Regions from separate parts of the Homo sapiens genome. Here region 1 is linked to region 2. Evidence: promoter capture Hi-C in 16 types of primary human blood cells and fetal thymus (Javierre and others, 2016). All regions are on one chromosome and are shown on one strand. The core of a region is centred on a gene start or on the middle of the fragment in contact, and the rest is flanking DNA. Distances in the headings are between cores, read along the strand shown.

Region 1 (3,565 bases), core at 99-2,598, 240 kb before region 2:
CTTAAAATGTGTAATTGACCTAGAAGTTCGTGATGATGAGTCTCTTTTTGGAGCAGTCTTTTTGGGCTTTGGTTTTTACTCTGAGATTCGTCTGGTGACATTCTTAACCATTTGAGTCCCTTAGAAGGGTGCATAGATCAATTTGAACCTCTGAAACAGTTGCTTTTGAGTCAAATCTGTAATGCATCTGCTCATGTTCTCTTTCTTTCTTTCTTTTCTTTTTTTTTTTTTGAGATGGAGTCTTGCTCTCTCACCCAGGCTGGAGTGTAGTGGTGCAATCTCAGCTCACTGAGTGCAGTGACATGACCTCAGCTCACTACAACTTCCACCTCTCAGGTTCAAGCAATTCTCCTTCCTCAACCTCCCAAGTAGCTGGGATTACAGACACCCGCCACCACACCTGGCTAATTTCTGTATTTTTAGTAGAGATGGAGTTTCGCCATGTTACTCAGGTTGGTCTCGAACTCCTGACCTCAGGTGATCCACTTGCCTTGGCCTCCCAAAGCACTGGGATTATCACGCCTGGCCCTATCCATGTTTTCTCACACCTGGCTCACCTGGATGTGTGGCTGTCTTCCTCCTTTCCCTGCACATCCTGTGCCAGTTCCTCTACAGGTACCTGAACGACTCCTATTACAAAATCTGAAAATTAGTGAAAGACACAGAGATCGACCAGAAGGCCTACATGGCCCAGGTGGAAGGCGTCATCAGCGGTACCTATGACTAGACCCAGCTGTCTATGACAGTGGCCTGTGACAGTGGGCCACTTGTGTACCCAGCTGGTTTTGTGTCCATCTTTATGGGGCTGTTCTATGCCCCTGGCCGAGGCACTGACATTCACATGTCCAGAACATCTTTGCTGTGCTCTGCCTGGCCACCTTGCTGCTTGTCTTCTTGATCTACCTCCAGACCTACAAGGTACCTCCCTTTATCTTATTTTTCATGTGCCACGCCTCTTACTGTGTCCACTGCACCTTTGTGCTGTGGCTCTCCTATGACCCAGTGCCCTCGGTATCAGCCTCCTGCTGGTCCAGCGCTGGGGCTGGGGCTGCTGGTGTTCCAGCCTGGCAGCCTCTGTGAAGATGAAAGTGCTGCTGTTCGCCCCTGGGTTACTGTTTCTTCTCCTCACACAGTTTGGCTGCCGTGGGGCCTTCCCCAAGCTGGGCATCTGTGTTGGCCTTCAGGTGGTGCTGGGGCTGCCCTTCCTGCTGGAGAAGCCCACTGGCTACCTGTCTCGCTCCTTTGACCTTGGCCGCCAGTTTCTGTTCTGCTGGACAATGAACTGGTGCTTCCTCCCAGGGGCTCTCTGCCTGCACCGTGCCTTCCACCTGGCCCTGATGGCCACCCACCTCACCTTGCTCTTGCTGTTTACCCTCTACTGGTGGCCCAGGATGGGGGAATGTATCTTGTCACTGATGAAGGATCCCTCCAAAAGGAAGGTTCCACCCAAGCCCTTCATAGCCAACCAGATCGTTTCTACCCTCTTCACCTCTAACTTCATTGGCATCTGCTTTAGCCACCTCCCTCCACTACCAGTTCTGTGTCTGGTATTTCCACACACTGCCCTACCTCCTGTGGGCCAGGACTGCACACTGGCTCACACACCTGCTCAGGTTGCTGGTGGTGGGGCTCATGGAGCTCTCCTGGAACACATACCCCTCCACATCCTACTGCTCTGCTGCCCAGCATGTGTGCCATGCTGTCCTCTTGCTGCAGCTCTGGCTGGGCCTGCAGCCATTCCCCAAGAGCATCCAACACAGCAAGAAAGTTCCCTGAAATCCACCCCTTTCCCTCCAGTGCACTCTCAGGACCTGGGGGAGTGAGATAGACTCTGTGCCCTTCCAAATAAACCTTGCCAAGTCCAATACACACACACAGACACACACACACACACACACACACACACACACACACACATAGACTTCCTCTCTCTATATATAGAGGGATTCACACAGGATGTGCATGGAAAGGCAACAGACAGCCACACATCCAGTCAAAATCACTAGGACTTTTATGTATCTCGATCAACAATGCTATGGCTACAATATTGACACAAAGACACAGAAGGAAGCTGAATTCACAGGAGTACACAGGGATCTTGTATTGTCTTCTGGATTAATCCATTTGTATAAAGTATGCTAATTTTACAGGAGTTGGTTTCCAGCTTTTGGACCAAATTTTGAACATTCTAAACTGGTTAATTTGAGCCTTTCAGAAATTATAATTTGTTCTATATATTTTTAAAATATCCACTTTTGATTGAGTCACTTATATGTTTGTATTCTTAGAATGAGTGACAGCTAAGTAATTGAATTTACGTGCTCTATCATTCTAGTTTAAATATTCAGTTTCATTTTGATATAAATAAATACATGAAATATGAGTATTTGAAGTTTATTGTCTAAAAAATTTAGTTGCATCCTTTCCTTGGGATATTGTCTTTAATTTTTAAGCTCAAAAGGCCTGGAAAAACATGCTTTCAATAATTCCTTATTGATTTTTTAACTATCTAAAAATATGTAGAAAAAGTTTGGTTAAAATAAACCAAAGACTTGTTGAAATTTCTTCGCTTTAAGTTGTTGTTCACCTGTCAATCTATCCAAAAGAGATAGGATGGCAGGAGGGAAGGAGAAAAGGAAGAGAGAGAGTAAAATTAGACCATCAGCTAATTACACGATGAATGATTTAACTACAATTGGAATAATGTGCTGGAAATTAACGAGGTGAATGGAAGAAATATGTACAAGAATGCCTCCTCATTAAGTCTCAAGGAACCATGTGGGGGAAGATGTGAGCTTGACCACACTCAGCACCAGGGAAAGTCTGCTCAAAATGAGGACTCAACATCTCCCTAATCCTTTTTTTGAAAATAACCAAATATTTTAAAACGTACTGATTTTACCAACTTTTTTTATTGCCACTTTTCTGCAAATGGAGCATGACTCACTTCCTTTGGACGAGAGTGGTCCGTCCCCTTTTCTGCTGGTCTTTGCTTCTCCCATGGGCATTGCCTTCTTCTTAATTTGTTTGGTGCCCGTATCTTCTCCATTTCCTTTTTCCTTTTTCCTGAGCACAGGAATACTCACCACCTGCCCACATGGTCTCCCTCTGTAATCATAGGTATATTACTTTCTCTTTAATACAGCCATCCCCTTTCTCCTCTCACATCCACAGACACTCACAGACTTTCCCACTCCACTCAAATCTATCTCACATCCTCCAGCTAGAACTCCCCCGTCACAGCTGGAGGAGCCAGCTCATACTTGGGGAGATTAGGTCACCGTGGCTTGTCTATACAGCTGCATTGCTGGCAGGGCCCAGGAACCACTAATCCCATCCCTTATGGTGGAACCAATAGTTTAGTCTCAACTCCACTTTCCAGGCATGTTCATACTCCCAAAAACATGACACATTCATAATAGAGTCAAAACACAAGTCACCTAACCCTGCCTGTAACTCAGCACCCACTTCCAAATGTCTTTCTATAGGTCCTGTAATCCTGGTGGAGGCCCTAGCCTCATGGAGCTCCTCCCAGTGAGTGGTGGGAGTGGCTGCTGTTATGACC
Region 2 (3,391 bases), core at 760-3,259:
AGACGATACGTTGTGACAACAACTGTGGTGCCAGGTGTTCAGAGCAGCACACTGGCACCCCACTCCCAGAGAGGATGCTGAAGCAGATTGAATCACTTTAGGAGAAAAGCACACTTAGGCACGAAGCCCTGGCTTTTCTTCTTCTTTCTTCTGTGTCTATAATGTGTTTTATCTTAAATAAAACTTCATAAATGCCATAAACTATTGTGGAAATCTCCTGAGTCCCTCTGGAATTTTCATGGTTTTAGGGAACTAGAATTTTTTTTTTTTTTTTTACAAAAATCTTACTTAAAAAGGTGAATTAGAATTAACCTTTAAAATTGTAAGAATTAACTTTTAGTATTGTAAGCAAAACCCTAAAAAGGACAAGGACAACCACAAGAGGATAGTCTGTAAATGGACAGATAATTAACTTTCTCTTGTAAATTCACTGTGACAATTTTTTTTAACATTTTATATCATTTGCACCTAGCGCCCCCTGGTGGTTCTCAAAAAGGTACTATGGTGAGCGTCAATCTGACACCGGTCACCTTATATACTATTTGTGTACTCATTTGGCAGGGAATAATTTCAAAAGTTAATGCATATATTAAGTGCTTGCCTTTATGTTATTTTATCAAATTGAAATAACTATACTGAGAAATTCTGAATTGTTAACTTTAATTTTCTAGATCTTCTGGAAATACATTGAGAGAATGAAACCTAGTTCTTCCTATAAAAGTCAATTAATATTAACATTTGATACGGCAATTTATTGTTGGTAACAATGCAAAATAATATTTATTAACTGTCATTGGATGGGTTCAGGTTAAAAAACCACCTAGCAACCAGTGCGACACACCTGCGTTCTCATTTACCTGATGCAGTATGAAGACACAGAGATCCCTTTCCATAAGACAGCAAATTTCCAAATGTCACTTGTAAGTGGCAGAAGTAAAAGCATGCATTGAAAAAGAATAAGACTTGCCCTCATGTCAAATTGTGGCCCAGGATATGAACGTTGCTGATGGTGTCACAATCAGCTGATTAGCCATTTCAGGCACTATTATGTTTGAAGTACGCCCTGATTGTTGGAGCATTAACTTTGGTATTGAGATGCTAAGCGCTTCTTTTATCTCCTTCACTGAGAATAAGCAACGATAGAGGAATATTTTAATCTATAAAGGAGGAGAAGGAGGAAAGGTTGGGGACGGGAAGGAGGATCCGAGGATGTAGAAGGGGACGGAAAAGAAAGTAATTTGCTCTTTATGACGGCTTTGATGCATACATTAATAGCTTTAGATTCTTCCTAAGCTCTTTAGAATAAAATAAAATGAACTTCCTCACCTTTTTCCTAATGTTATATCAATAACTCTGGCAAACCGTTTTGCCAGGGAATAAAATGTAAATATTGGTGGAAATCCACTCATCGGGGCTCGCTCATACAGTTAAAAAAAAAAAAAGTTCACAACAGCATCTTAAAAGTAGGGTTCCACAGAGTCGTGAACATTCACAGCACCTAATAAACCAGCGGCACGGAGATTACGAGCTGCTAAATGGCAAGGATTAGAAGCCCCCACCTCACGGACTTACCGCCCTTTTCCATCCAGCCCGGCCGCTCCGCGGGTGGAGGAGGACGCGGGACGCTCGGGCTCCCAGGCGCTGCCGCTGCGGGTCCCATGGCGCACGCAGGTGCCTGCGGAAAACAGCGGCGACATCGCGGTGAGACGGCGGGGTCCGCGGGAGAGGAGCCGCGGGGGACTCGCCTCCAGCTGTCCGGACCCGCGGTTTCCGCGCTGGTGGGAGCGCCCGGGACTCACCTGCTCGGCCACCTGCGCCAACAGCATCCACAGCGCCGCCAAGCCCCGCCATCCGCGCGCGCGGGGCTTCATCCAGGAGCGCTCCGAGGGGCTAGGGGCCACCGGAGGGTCCCCGGCCGGCAGCGTGCGAGCGGGCAGGGAGGACCCGACCCAGGCAGAGCGCGGGAGGATTCCCCACAGCGACTCCGCCGCCGCGCCGGGGTTATTACTGAAGCTCCGTGCGGCGCGGGGGGCGGAGTGGCAGCCGCGGCGGCGGGGGCGGCGGGAGCGGTGGGAGAGCGCGGGGCGGGCAGGGGAGAGAGGAGGGGAGGAGGTGAGGGCGGGGGGGTCAGAGGACCGAGGAGGGGAGAGTGCAGGGACAAAGAGCAGAGGGGAGGAGGCGAGGTCAGCGGGGCGCTGAGGCGGAGGCGAGCGGGGAGCAGAGGGAAGGCGGGAGACAGCGGGCAGCGCCAGAGGAGGAGGACGCGGGAAGATGGAGCTGCCCACGGCCTGCAGTCCGTGCCTCTCTGCCCGCGCGGGGACCACACAGTTGGAGAGGCTGCCGGGCACCGGCGCGGGCGATGCTCAGCATGGACCTCCGGCCGGTGCGCGCTCCTGCCCTGCCTTGGGGCTGGGGACTCGGCGGGACTCCAGCTACTGCAGTGGCTCCGCGGGCTCCCACCTCCGGGCCGCACCGGCGCCGCCAGAGGCCGGGACACCTGCAGCCCGCGGAGTGCGGTCTGGCCGCGCCTCTGTGCCCGGGCACAGCTGTGGGGACACTGGGTGCGGAAAACCGGGCGCCAGGACGTGGGAGAGCCGCGGACCTGCCTTTAAAGGCGCGTGCCTCGCTCTGGAGTTTGCGGAGCGATCGGAGACGGGGAGGCTGAGGAGGAAACTCTTCCCCCGCGCCATTTGCCCCGAGATGTGGCGGCGCTCCTGGCCCCGCGGTCACGGCCACCCTCAACTGGCCAGGCCGCGGAGGCCGGTGACTGGCTGCTGGGTGCAATCCCTAGGGAGGTCTCAGGGCTGCGGATGGGCCTGGGTCTCGGCCGCCACGGGGGTCGATCGGGCTACTGTGTGGACAGGGTGGCCAAGGAGGCAGCAGGTGTGCGGTCAACAGCCTGGCCAGAATTCTGCTGTAGCTGGATGGGGTGTGTGAGCGCGCGGGTGTACATGTGCCTGGGTGTGCGCGGGTGTACATCCACACCTGACTGCGTGTGCGCGAGTACACGCTGTGAGCCCATAGTGTGTCTGGAATTGGTGGGTTCTTGGTCTCACTGACTTCAAGAATGAAGCCGCATACCCTCGCGGTGAGTGGGTACAGCTCTTAAGGTGGTGCGTCTGGAGTTTGTTACTTCTGATGTTCAGATGTGTTCGGAGTTTCTTCCTTCTGGTGGGTTCGTGGTCTCGCTGGCTCAGGATTGAAGCTGCAGACCTAGGCGGTGAGTGTTACAGCTCTTAAGGCAGAGCCTCTGGAGTTGTTCGTTCTTCCCGGTGGGCTCGTGGTCTCGCTGGGCTCAGGAGTGAAGCTGCAGATCTTCACGGTGAGTGTTACAGCTCATGAAAGCAGAGTGGACCCAAAGAGTGAGCAGTAGGCCGGGCGCGGTGGCTCA

The links. The method cuts DNA at HindIII sites, captures the fragments that hold promoters and counts their contacts. A CHiCAGO score of 5 or more calls a contact.
Region 1: a contact is called between a fragment that was not itself captured here and the fragment with the promoter of ADAMTS16 in region 2, in 1 of 17 cell types (megakaryocytes). The highest score is 5.6, in megakaryocytes.

The regions. Positions count from the first base shown.
Region 1 is chr5:5,373,932-5,377,496 of GRCh38, reverse strand. All of the region lies in intron 2 of LOC101929200 (a long non-coding RNA gene), which reads left to right. It also overlaps the pseudogene ALG3P1. Among named protein-coding and RNA genes, the nearest start is that of ICE1, 47 kb to the left of the region's middle. The HindIII fragment of the contact is 5,761 bases long and covers 1-3,565 here.
Region 2 is chr5:5,138,948-5,142,338 of GRCh38, reverse strand. ADAMTS16 (ADAM metallopeptidase with thrombospondin type 1 motif 16) reads right to left here and starts at 2,009. Exons shown (of 23, transcript NM_139056.4): 1 at 1,800-2,009; 2 at 1,573-1,675. The coding sequence starts at 1,871. It overlaps ADAMTS16-DT (ADAMTS16 divergent transcript), which reads left to right and starts at 2,285. Exons shown (of 4, transcript NR_109915.1): 1 at 2,285-2,383. ADAMTS16-AS1 (ADAMTS16 antisense RNA 1) reads left to right here. Exons shown (of 2, transcript NR_198969.1): 2 at 1-201. RefSeq lists an enhancer at 2,237-2,803. The HindIII fragment of the contact is 3,896 bases long and covers 1-3,391 here.